Regions from separate parts of the Homo sapiens genome. Here region 1 is linked to region 2. Evidence: promoter capture Hi-C in 16 types of primary human blood cells and fetal thymus (Javierre and others, 2016). All regions are on one chromosome and are shown on one strand. The core of a region is centred on a gene start or on the middle of the fragment in contact, and the rest is flanking DNA. Distances in the headings are between cores, read along the strand shown.

Region 1 (6,217 bases), core at 1,973-4,472, 860 kb after region 2:
AGGTGGGCATGATGGCACACTCTTGTAATCCCAACTACTTGGGAGGCTGAGGCAGGAGAATTGCTTGAGCCCAGGAGGTGGAGGTTGCAGTGAGTCGAGAACGTGCCCCTGCACTCTAGCCTGGATGACAGAATGCGACCCTGTCTTAAAAAATAAATAAAATAAAAATAATCTTTTAGGCTAGGGGTGGTGGGCTCATGCCTGTAATCCTAGCACTTTGGAAGGCTGAGGCAGCTGGATCACATGATGCCAGGAGTTTGAGACCAGACTGGCCAACATGGAGAAACACTATCTCTATTAAAAATACAAAAATTGGGCTGAGCGCAGTGGGTCACGCCTGTAATCCCAGCACTTTGGGAGGCTGAGGCCGTCATATCAATTGAGGTTAGGAGTTCGAATCCAGCCTGGCCAACATGGTGAAACCCCATCTCTACTAAAAATACAAAAATTAGCCAGCCATGGTAGTGGGCGCCTATAATTCCAGCTACTCAGAATGCTGAGGCAGGAGAATTGCTTGAGCCCAGGAGGCAGATGTTGCAGTGAGCCGAGATCAAACCACTGCACTCCAGCCTAGGGAGACAGAGAGAGACTCCGTCTCAAGAAAAATAAAAATAAATAAACAAAATGATCTTTTTTTTCTTTTTTCTCTTTTTTTTTTTTTGAGATGGAGTCTCTCTTTGTCGCCTAGGCTGGAGTGCAGTGGCGTGATCTCGGCTCACTGCAAGCTCTGCCTCAGCCTCCCGAGTAGCTGGGACTCCAGGTGCCTGCCACCACGCCCGGCTAATTTTTTTTTTTTTGTATTTTTAGTAGAGATGGGGTTTCACCGTGTTAGCCAGGATGGTCTCGATCTTCTGACCTGGTGATCCGCCCACCTCAGCCTCCCAAAGTGCTGGGATTACAGGTGTGAGTCACCACACCCAGCCTTAAAATTATCTTTTAAATAATGCCTTGTTTCTTCCCTAAAAGAATGCAGGGAAGGAGCTGTGTCTACTTTCCCTTCGGATCCTTGGGGGATCCAAAACAGCGGCAGGCATAGAGCTCAATAAATGTTGAAATAATCAATTTTGGAGAAAGCAAACACCTCTCTCTCTATATATATTTTTTGTTTGTTTGTTTGTTTGTTTTGAGACAGAGTCTCGCTCTGGTGCCCAGGCTGGATTGCAGTGGGACGATCTTGGCTCACTGCAACCTCTGCCTCCCGGGTTCAAGCACTTCTCCGCCTCAGCCTCCTGAGTAGTGAGATTACAGGCACGCACCACCACGCCTGGCTAATTTTTGTATTTTTAGTAGAAACGGGGTTTTCACCATGTTGGTCAGGCTGGTCTTGAATTCCTGACCTCGTGATCCACCTGCCTCGGCCTCCCAGAGTGCTGGGATTACAGGTGAGAGCCACTGCACACTGCCACACTTCCACATATTTATGGAAGCTGTAAGGCATGTTGGAGATTACGGCACCAGCTCCTTCATTTGACAGGTAGGGAAATGGAAGGCCAGAGAGCTGAACTGATGTGCCAAGTGACACAGTGACTTTGTGACAAAAGTGTCCTTTTCTACCTTTCCCAGTGCTTTCACATATATCATTTTATTTTCCTTTCCTATTTTCCTGGTGCTTTGGAAGAGTCTTTGGGCAATGGTTGGGTCTCCAAAACCTTTTCAATTACCAAAGAGACAGGATGGATTAGTGACCTCGTCCCACACCCCTGGGAGGGGCCCCAGGGAAGAGCAGTAGTAACTGGACGCCTTCCCTGAGTCCAAAGCAGACACTCCAGGACACCTGATTCTCTGGGAACATACTGACTGAGCCCCCTCTCTCAGAGGGGAACAGCGAATACTTGCTTCCCTCGGGATAAGGTAGCCATTTAGTGTTTGAACAGTGGAGAGACTGACCCAGGCCCTGCAATTACATTGCTGGGTGACCTTGGGCAGCGCGTAAGTGACCCGCTTCCTCTATTGCCCCATCTGTAAAATGGGTGGGTGTGAAGCATTAGGATCTTTGCGGTCCTGGAAGGACCTTCCCTACTGACCCAGTTAGTTGGTAGGAGTTGTGTCTGTGGGTTTTTTTTTTTTTCTTTTTTTGAGACGGAGTCTCGTTCTGTCGCCCAGGCTGGAGTGCAGCGGCGTGATCTCGGCTCACTGCAAGCTCTGTCTCCCGGGTTCACGCCATTGTCCTGCCTCGGCCTCCCAGGTAGCTGGGACTACAGGCGCCCGCCACCACGCCCGGCTCATTTTTTTTGTATTTTTAGTAGAGACGGGGTTTCACCGTGTTAGCCAGGATGGTCTCGATCTCCTGACCTCGTAATCCACCCGCCTCGGCCTCCCAAAGTGCTGAGATTACAGGCGTGAGCCACCGCGCCCGGCCGGGTTTTGAATACTGGAATATTCAATAAACCTTTTTTTTTTTTTTTTTTTTTGAGACAGTGTTTCGCTCTTGTTGCCCAGGCTGGAGTGCAATGGCGCGATCTCGGCTCACCGTAACCTCTGCCTCCCGAGTAGCTGGGATTACATGCTATTCTCCGGCCTCAGCCTCCCGAGTAGCTGGGATTACATGCATGCGATACCACGCCCGGCTAATTTTGTATTTTTAGTAGAGACTGGGTTTCTCTATATTGGTCAGGCTGGTCTCGAACCACGGACCTCAGGTGATCCGCCCGCCTCAGCCTCCCAAAGTGCTGGGATTACAGGCATGAGCCACCGCGCCCGGCCAAAACCTTTCAAACCTGAGAATGAATGGATCAAACTGCTGGAGAGGTCGGTGTGCTGGAGTTGCTAAACTGCTGGGAGACTCAGGTTTCCCAGCTCTTAAGGGAAGATCGAGGGGTCAAAGGTCGGGTTCCGGTCAAGCCCACAGAGAACCGGAAGTCCCAGATCCGGTCGGCTCGGAGCCCAGGGCTCCAGCCGGGCTACTCACGCTCCGGAGGCGGAGCTTCAGCAGCGGGAGGGGGAGGAATCTGGGGCCTCCCAATGGCAGCTCGGGTGTCTTCCATCGCAGCCATTCAACGTCTGGCGACGGTCAAATTTAAACACCCCTCCCACCTCCTCCGCCGGGACCTGTCGGGAAAGCGTTTGCAGTTATTGCGGCGGCTGGACACGCCCCGCCGCCGAAGAGGCGGGAGAAGGGCGGGGCCTTTCTCCGAGTTGGCCTATCACTACGGGCAGCCTGCGGAGAGGCGGGAGGCGGCGCCAATCGGGGCGAGCAGCTGGAGCCCGGCGGAGCAGTTGGCTGAGTTGTTGCAACTTTTTTCGAAAGCTGGGTTTCCCGGGAGATCCCAGGCGGTGACAGAGTGGAGCCATGGCTAGAGGTATTTGCCCAAGTGGCCGGCACCGGAGCGGCTGGGTCGGGGGTCGTGCTGGAGGGGTTGCCGGGGTGGAGGCAGCGGCTGCGGGGAGGCGTCCTCCTCGGGTGGCTCGGGGCAAGCTTGGGGACCCGCGTGGGGGGAGAGGGGGTGCTGCTGCGGAACCCGCCGGCCCCCCCTTGCGGCTCCAGATGCCCCCAGAAACCCTTCCCACTGCCGTGCTTCTGTTTCCCTTCTATGAAGTGAACACCTGCGGGCCTGCCTCTCCACGGCAGCAGATCCATATGTCAGAGCTCTTTGGAAACTAAAGCGCAGGGCACCTCCAGGGAATAGGTGTTATTGATAGAAGTGGGGCGGGGGCAGGAGTGAGGCTTCGCCCACTTTGGGGCCCTCTCTCTTTGGGAAAGGAGGTGATCCCGAGGCGAAGGCGCAGATCGATAACCTGCATATTGGGGTGCGCGTCAGGGTGGACACCGCAGCAGGCGCCTTTCCTCCCTCCCCACGTCCTGAGTCAGCTCTGCGCCGCTGGAGCGAAGGCCGGGCCCCGCTGGCCCACTTTGGGGTAAAACGGGTTCCTGGCATCTCGCGGGCGCGGTCGTTCGCCCCGCATCTGGTCAGGACTTCGCCCCCCGGTAGATGGCTTGGGTGGGCTTGTACAGCCCTGGGAGGCGATGCCCTGTCTGAAGTCCTCTGCATACTTAGTTGGCTGTCAGGACAGTGCCTCCCAGGTATGCGGCAAAGAGATCTCCAACCGCTTGGTCATTTCCAGCCACTGCGTCTCCTTCACGCCAAAGGGCCAAAAACTTGAGCGTGAAAGTTGAGTAGAATTAGTATTAAAAAAAAAAAAAAGTTTTGGTATTATATTTTTCTCAAAATTTCAAGGCTTCAAGTGTTAGTAGGAATTTGCTTTAGTGCAGTATGCTCCCTATAGCAATAATAATGAATAAAATAATGATTCATTCAGTAAATATCTATTGGGTCCCTTTGTTTTCAGGCCCTGAAGTCAGTTGCATCATCTATTCTCCTAGCATCCCTAGAGGTTCTTTTGGGATAAGACTTACCCAGAGCCTGATGAAAAAATGAGGCATAGTAAACTTCAGGTTAAAGAGCTTCATCACTCAACTCTTGGAGAAAATTAATACTAATATTTTTCCTTTGAAAAGTGTTAAGCATCTAAAAGTATATTTAACATTATCTGACTAATTTATCTGACAAATTTTAATAAAACTATGCTTCCTGGGTTCATTTTTCTCATCACAGCAAAATCATTTAAACTACTTGTTTTAAAAGTAGTGCATTAATTAATATATGAAGAAAACTAACCATCTATCATTGAAATACTTAAAATATGACTAAATAATAATTATGGCCAGGCATGGTGGCTCACACCTGTAATCCTAGCACTTTGGGAGGCCAAGGCGGGCAGATCACCTGAGGTCGGGAGTTCGAGACCAGTCTGACCAACATGGAGAAATCCCGTCTCTACTAAAAATACAAAATTAGCCGGGCATGGCAGCGCATGCCTGTAATCCCAGCTACTTGGGAGGCTGAGGCAGGGAGAATTGCCTGAACCTGGGAGGTGGAGCTTGCAGTGAGCCGAGATTACGTCACCGCACTCCAGCATGGGCAACAGAGCAAGACTCCATCTCAAAAAAACAAACAAGAACAATAACAAAATAATAATAATTACCACTGAGGGCCAGGCACTTTATTAACTCAATTGATCTTTACAAATTGTTATTCTCATTTTTTGGAAGAGGAAGCGTGAAGTCCAAACTTGCTGTCCAGACTCTAGCTTGGCTGGGTCTTTGCTTGTGCCACCCAACCTCCCTTACTTACCCAAAGCGAAGATAATGTTTGTCAGCTCCTCCCATGGCAGCTTACAAATCACCTATGTAATTATTAGTTATTGATTCTCACTGTCTCACTTGACCCCCAAATTAGTAGTTACCTGTTTCTTAGGCTTTACTGCCCTTGCAAGCTATTAAATTGGATATTTAGATTTAGATTTTTTTTTTTTTTTTTTTTTTTGAGACAGAGTCTCTCTCTGTCACCCAGGCTGGAGTACAGTGGAGTGATTTCAGCCCGCTTCACCCTCCCTCTCCTGTGTTCAAGTGATTCTTGTGCCTCAGCTTCCCAAGTAGCTGGGATTACAGGCACCTGTCACCACACCCAGCTAATTTTTGTATTTTTAGTAGAGACGGGGTTTCGCCATGTTGGCCAGGCTAGTCTTGAACTCCTGACCTCAGGTTATCTGCCCACCTCGGCCTCCCAGAGTGCTGGGATTACAGGCAAAAGCCACCACGCCTGGCCAATATTTAGAATTGTAAATACCAAATCATTTACAGCACTTCAAATGAACAGTCTTTTTCTTCTAGAAAATTGGGCTTTGAACTTGCAATTCACTTTGAGAGCCCTGCTGGGTCACAGAAACAAACTGGTCAGATGCCAGGCAACACCTCACTCATTTTGAAGTTTTATAATCATGCAAATATTTACAACCCCAATATATTAGTCTCAGGGGTCAGTCCACCTACCTTTCACTATTTCTACTGCCATTGTTGAATGGTCTCTTGGTTGGTTGCCCTCCTCATTTTGCCATCTTCAGTTCATTATCCCTTAGCACCTGGTGGGGGGGTCTCCAAAAATACAGACTTTTCTTTTTTTTTGGGAGACAGAGTCTCACTCTGTCACCCAGGATAGAGTGCAGTGGCACAATCTTGGCTCACTGCAAACTCCACCCCCCTGGGTTCAAGTGACTCTCCTGCCTCAGCCTCCCAAGTAGCTGGGATTACAGGCATGCGCAACCACGCCAAGCTAATTTTTGTATTTTTAGTAGAGACGGGGTTTCGCCATGTTGGCCAGGCTGGTCTCAAACTCCTGATTTCAGGTGATTTGCCCTCCTCTGCCTCCCAAGGTGCTGG
Region 2 (6,751 bases), core at 1,151-3,650:
CTTCATGCTTAACATCACAAAGCTGGACAACAGAGAAACCTCCCTGTGACATAGGCTAACTTAAACTTACATCATCAACCATTTTCATCTGTAAAATATACTACAGAGCAACAACAAAAACCATCTTAACACTAAACAAATAGGAATGATAGGTGGTCATTGAGGCCATGGAAAACTTTTATTTCCCTGAGGATATTTTATAGTAGCATAATACAGGTATCCAGGAAAAAAACCTACCAAAAACTGAGTATTAAAATTGCTCTGAAATTTTCTAAGCTTTAATTTAGTACTAATCTATGTGTACACATAAACGTTAACTGCAAAACAGCCTTCTATTCCAGCAGTGGCTCTACGAGGTAGCCACTTTGGTTTCTTATAATTTACATTTTGTTGCAAACTCTAATAACGGCTCGAAACATAGACAAATCTTTTTCCACTGCGAAGGAGGTAAGCACTGGATTGAATACTAGGTCACTTCTCTAGGGGACTGTCTTTTTATTGAACAAGGCACGGCATAAATAAATGTTTAAATTCACTTTTTAAAATACTAGAACCCGGCCGGGCGCGGTGGCTCACTCCTGTAATCCCAGCACTTTGGGAGGCCGAGGCGGGTGGATCATCTGAGGTCAGGAGTTCGAGACCAGCCTGGCCGACGTGGTGAAACCCCGTCTCTACCAAAAATATAAAAAAATTAGCCGGGTGTGGTGGTGGGCGCCTGTAATCCCAGCTACTCGGGAGTCTGAGGCAGGAGAATCGCTTGAACCCGGGAGGCGGAGGTTGCAGTGAGCCAAGATCGCGCCATCGCACTCCAGCCTGGGCGACAAGAGCAAAACTCCGTCTCGAAAAAATACAAAAAAACCTGCAACCCAAGAAAAATAGTATTACTCTTTAAGTATACTGAGGCCCAAAACACTAAACAAAGGAAGACAGTAAAAGAAACGGGTTTAAACTCAATCACCTAAATAATAGAGGGGTATGGGGGAAAAAGAAAATCATCTGCCTAATCCCAGGCATTCCAATCGTTAGGAAGAGCAAACTTTAAAACTATCACTATGTTTAAGAGTCATAATTATTATCGAAAATGATGTAATTTTTTAGTCAGTAAAAAGGAATGCAAAATCTTTACATTTTCCTTTTAACGGAATAAAAATGAGGTAAGCACAAAATAATGTGGATCCGTCAGAATTGGGTATCTTATACACACGCAGGCTTATTGTTCAGAATAGATAATTTACGAACTGTAGCTCCTCTGGGGTCAACGAAGAGTTTTTTTTTTTTTTTTTTTTTTTTTTTTTTTTTTTTTTGAGACGGAGTCTCGCTCTGTCACCCAGGCTGGAGTGCAGTGGCGGGATCTCGGTTCACTGCAAGCTCCGCCTCCCGGGTTCACGCCATTCTCCTGCCTCAGCCTCCCAAGTAGCTGGGACTACAGGCGTCCGCCACTACGCCCGGCTAATTTTTTTGTATTTTTAGTAGAGACAGGGTTTCACCGTTTTAGCCGGGATGGTCTCGATCTCCTGACCTCGTGATCCGCCCGCCTCGGCCTCCCAAAGTGCTGGGATTACAGGCGTGAGCCACCGCGCCCGGCCAACGAAGGGTTTAAATTTAAAGGAACAAGGTCAGTGACAAGACTTAACTGTAACGCTTCTCGGACTTCAAATTGATTACATCACGGGCCACTTCGGAAACCGCGCATCAGTCAGAATTGGTAGTTCCACAACCTTTTAAGTTGAATTTTCACTCCCTTTCAGCAATACCTTCCTAGCTCGTTAATACACAATAATAAGGTTTACACGGACGAACACTAATTGAAATTATGCAACTAGAAGCATCTCATTGAGCGTACAAAAAAAAAAATAGCTACAAGTCGCTCTCTTCTCCCACACTACCCTTTACAGACACTGCCTTTTTGACCCAATACTTTTCAGAGACCACTCCTGATCGTCTTTCTCTTCCCCAGCCCCTTTCTCCACCGCAAATTCTCAGGCCCTAAAAAAAACTTAGAATAAATCACTAGCCAGGGTGAATAAGCGAAAATGGAGGAAGTTCAGTGAGGCGAAAGGAACGTAGGGTTGGGGAAGAGAGGAGGAAAGTTCTGGAAAAAAAAAGGCACTCCCTGCGGCTCCCCACCCCCACCAACACCGCCTTACTTCCCCCTCCCTACAGCAGGCAGCCATGATGGCGGGCGCAGAAGAAGGCCGCGGCGCCATTTTGTCTACACACATACACACGAACAAGGTTCTGGGAGCCGTTCACCCACTGTTGGAACGTAGCAGAAAAATATCCCTGGCTTTAAACTCAGATTCGGTACCTACCGCCATAGTTCAGAGTCCCGGCCGCTAGAGCGGCGCCTCCACTTGTCGCTTTCAACAGTACCGGCCGCTCCGAAGCTTCGCCTCAGACTAAATCGCTCGCGCGAGAGACCCGGATGGCACAAAGGCGAGGAGGCCCGGCGCGTCGCACAGCTTGCTGGGAGAAAAAGGGGCGGTAACAAAAGTTTCTATAACAACGCAATTCGAGGCGGTGATTGGGTGTTCTTTCATAGGGGAGTGTAAAGACCGTGAAGAGGGCGGGGCCAAGAATACACCCCCGGAATGCGCAGTCGGGAGAACGGAATGGGCGGAACTCAGGGTGGGGCAACTTCCTATTTCGAGTCTAAAGTAATCTTGGTCTCTTCCGGCCGCCGTAAAGGGGTTGGGTTTAGTGTTCTCCCGCCAATTTAAGCCTGTGGCATGGAACCTAAAGACTAGAGGCGGTTGTGTGAGTCAGGAAGAGGGGCCAGATATCTGAGTGTTCCTCTTTAGTTTCTTCAATTGCAGGTGAGGACGGGGAGCTGCGCTGTGTAGGGAACTGGGGGTGGGTTCAGGACGAAGTAGCTGCAGCCTCTGCTCAGTTCCTGTTGTTTTCCCCTTGACGCTGGCAGGAGAGAGGTTGGAGTCGGTTTTTGCTGGCGGCGATGTCCAGCGGAGAGCGTTTAAGTATGGAGGCCTAACTGACAAGTGTTTCATCTTGCTCATTCTCTCGTATTCGCGAATCTGTTCTGCATTCCGCCGCCAGAGTGATCTCAAAATTATAAAATCAGACCACTCGTTTGCTGAGTTCCCCTTCTACCCCTTGTACTGAGAATAAAATTCAATCTTGAGGTCGAGGTTTTATTGGACTCCACTGCTCTCTCCCTCACTGTCTTCTGCTTTTGCTTTGACCCGGCAGCAGCATCAAACGCTTCCTACCCAGCCTCCGAGTCTTTGCACTCTGTTCCCTCTGCCTACGTCGCGTTCCGCCTAAGTTTTGCGTACTTCTTGTTATTCAGGTCTCAGCTCAGATGTCACCTCCTTCCCTTCCCAAACAAATCCTTCTTCAGCGACGCCTCACCTTATCCATTTAATCACTGTTTCCTTCAAATCATTTAGCACTTTTTGTAATTATTTGTGCAGTTGCTTTTTTGTGGAGGTAGCATAACAAGATACGTATTAACAATTTTATTTTTGTCCGTTTTTCCCGCAAAAACATAAACTTCATAATGGCAAAGACATTTTGTGTTCTGTTCAAGCTATATTCCCAGTTCCTAGAAAGGTGTCTGGCACATAGTAAATAGGTATTCAATAAACATTTGTTGAATAAGTAAATATGGCAGTTACGGGCGGTTTCTCTATTTCACAGATGTGGGAAATTGAGACCCATAAAGGTATTCATTCCAACCTGTCCCTCCTTCTTCATCTCCTCACTCCCACCCAAACACCAGCCACTGAAACTTCTCTATTCTCCAAACATGTTTTGTTTCTGTTCCCTTGCTTATGCTCTTAGGAAGAACTCTTTAAACATTTATAAAACTATGATCTTCAATTCTCAGCCCAATAACAAATTAGCTAACACCTAAAATTGAATGTTTGCCATCAACCAAGCATTGTTCTGTGAACATTTAAAACTCAAAACATTTGGAGGCTGAAGCAGAAGGATTGCTTGAGCCCAGGAGATCAAGGCCAGCCAGGGCAAAATAGTGAGACCCTCGTCTCTCAAAAAACCAGAAGTGAAAAATAGAAAACTCCTTCAGGTGGGTACAACTAAATTAGTCCCTTGGTATTGGTATCCATGGGAGATTGGTTCCAGGACCTCCCACAGATACCAAAACCCTAGGATGCTTAAGTCCCTGTCATTAAATGGCATAGTATTTGCATGTAGCCTAGGAACATCTGCCTGTATACTTTAAATCATCTCTTGATTTCTTATCTTGCGTAACAGTGTAAATGTGCTATGCCTGTAGGTGCAATCTAGGGATGTGGAACACATGGATATTGACGGCAAACTGTATATATATATTTTTTTTCCAAGACGGAGTTTCACTCTTGTTGCCCAAGCTGGAGTGCAAGTGGCACGATCTCGACTTACTGCAACCTCCGCCTCCCGGGTTCAAGCAATTCTACAGCCTCAGCCTCCTGAGTAGCTGGGATTACAGGCGCACACCACCACGCCCGGCTAATTTTTTGTGTTTTTAGTAGAGAGGGGGTTTCGTCATGTTGGCCAGGCTGGTCTCAAACTCCTGACCTCAGATAATCCACCTGCCTAAGCCTCCCAAAGTTCTGGGATTACAGGTGTGAGCCACCGCGCCGGCCTGGTCTGTATATTCCTATTTTATAAATTAGAGAATTGAGGAACAGAAAGATTAAGTGATCACCCAAGGACAGCTGCCTAGTCATTGTGAAAGAGCACCAAGTCAGAAATTGTTTCTACCTTGTGCTATACCTTTTATAGATATTGAAACATACTTCTAGTAGCACTTATGAAACCAATTGTAATTATTTGATTATCATTCCCTACCAGTCTTGATCCAAGGATTGTTTTTATCCTTAGTGTTCTTTTCCCACCCAGACTCCAGGTAATATGGTTTATGTAAACCTTTGCTTTTTGAGATGGGTAAACCTCATAAGGTTTCAAGCTTAGTCTTTGATCCAGAAACCTAATTCATTTTTTTCTCCTCCCCTTATCATTTTTATTTGTTGTATAATAATACTATGATAGCATCAATGGACTTTTTCTGAACTTCATCTGGAATCTTATCATCCTATGATATCCCTGACAATCTGGCATCTAAACCTACACTGTTTGCTGCTATTAAAGGTTTATTTCTAATGAAAGGTTTATTTCTAATGAAAACTTGGTATAATTAAAGGTTTATTTCTAATGAAAACTTGGTATAATTCCAAACTAGACACACAAAGTAATGGAAGCTCTAAGATACATTGGTAAGATCAGAATTGTTGGTTTGTGTGCATAAACCAATATGTTGTTCTCTGGTAACCATCATAGCTCTAGTTCCATTTATGTTATTGGCCCGAAGTGTTTAGTGGCCACAGCAATAACAAGAAGACTAAGATGTCTGTATATGTTAATGTTAGACTTTTGTTTTTGTTTTGTGAGTAAGCTTTATCATTTCCCAAGGAACCAGGTTCTATGCAACAAGATAATATGGTGTCTAATTTTATGTTGTTCAGGAAAGACAGTGGTTCCTGACTCAGGAAGACAGTCTCAGAAACATGTGGAATGATATTGAGCTGCTAACAAATGATGATACCGGAAGTGGGTACCTGAGTGTCGGTTCAAGAAAAGAACATGGAACTGCTTTATATCAAGTAGATTTGCTAGTGAAGATCTCTTCTGAAAAGGTAGTGATTATTACACTGACTGTTTCATTCACAGAATTTTTACTGAGTGCTTAGTAGGGCTAGTGGCCCACAGTAAATATTTTGTGAATGAACATAGCACTTCCTCAGGGAATCAAGATTCAATCTCAGATTGCTAGAAATTCACGTCTGAATACCCTCTGCATCATGTCAGGATCAGTATTTTCACAACTGAAGGATTCTTAGTTCCTCTTGATATTTCATGCATACAAAAATATGTGTAAGTTGATACAAAGGATATCTTTTTTTTTTTTTTTTGAGACAGATTCTTACTCTGTCACCCAGGCTGGAGTGCAGTGGTGTGATCACGGCTCACTGCAATCTCTGACTCCCAGATTCAAGTGATTCTCGTGCCTCAGCCTCCCAAGTAGCTGAGATTACAGTTGTGTGCCACCATGCTCAGCTAATTTTTTGTATTTTTGTAAAGATGGGGTTTCTCCATGTTGGCCAGGCTGGTCTTGAACTCCTGGCCTCAAGAAATCCACCCACCTCAGCCTCCCAAAGTGCTGGGATTACAGGTGTGAGCCATCACTCCCGGCATACAAAGAATATCTACGACTGACTTAGGAAATAAAATGTTACAAATAGAGTTGAAGGCTCTGAGGGTCCATCCCTGAATCTGTGTTCCTCCTGTTTCCTACCAGAGTCAAGCACCCTGCTGAGTATGAGGTTTATCCGTGCATTTCTTTCTACATTTTAACTTTCTTCTGTCAGTAATTGCACCATTCTTGCTTCATGCCTGAAACCTTATTCTTTGCATTCTATAGAAGGTACTATTAGCTGGGTGTGGTGGCATGCACATGTAGTCCCAGCTACTTGGGAGGCTGGTATTTAATTCTTTTTTTTTTTTAATAAAAGAAATTTTTTTTCACTCAAATGGAATCTGACAGATAAGGCAGGGCATCCACTGTGGACGTTATTCCTAAAGGGAATTAAATGTATGCTTTTGACTTTTTTTTTTAAACTGGCTGATGGGATTTTAAAAAGAAATCATTCTTTATGCAGCTTTAAGCTGGTGTCTGTGGAACTGTGCTGCTTTTTCTTGCTGTGGTGCTATCTCGGCTCGGCTCACTGCA

The links. Contacts are between HindIII fragments. The CHiCAGO score rates a contact against its expected background, and 5 or more counts as called.
Region 1: the fragment with the promoter of KMT5A here is called in contact with the fragment with the promoter of RSRC2 in region 2 in 1 of 17 cell types (erythroblasts); the score reaches 8.0 in erythroblasts.

What each region holds. Positions count from the first base shown.
Region 1 is chr12:123,380,910-123,387,126 of GRCh38, forward strand. It overlaps KMT5A (lysine methyltransferase 5A), which reads left to right and starts at 3,223. Exons shown (of 8, transcript NM_020382.7): 1 at 3,223-3,299. The coding sequence starts at 3,290. RefSeq lists silencers at 2,194-2,416, 3,344-3,513 and enhancers at 2,381-3,111, 2,634-2,853, 3,694-3,853. The HindIII fragment of the contact is 10,259 bases long and covers 1-3,413 here.
Region 2 is chr12:122,524,536-122,531,286 of GRCh38, forward strand. It overlaps RSRC2 (arginine and serine rich coiled-coil 2), which reads right to left and starts at 2,401. Exons shown (of 10, transcript NM_023012.6): 1 at 2,313-2,401. The coding sequence starts at 2,318. It overlaps KNTC1 (kinetochore associated 1), which reads left to right and starts at 2,714. Exons shown (of 64, transcript NM_014708.6): 1 at 2,714-2,816; 2 at 5,456-5,657. The coding sequence starts at 5,529. RefSeq lists enhancers at 2,081-2,540, 4,648-4,747. The HindIII fragment of the contact is 2,543 bases long and covers 2,386-4,928 here.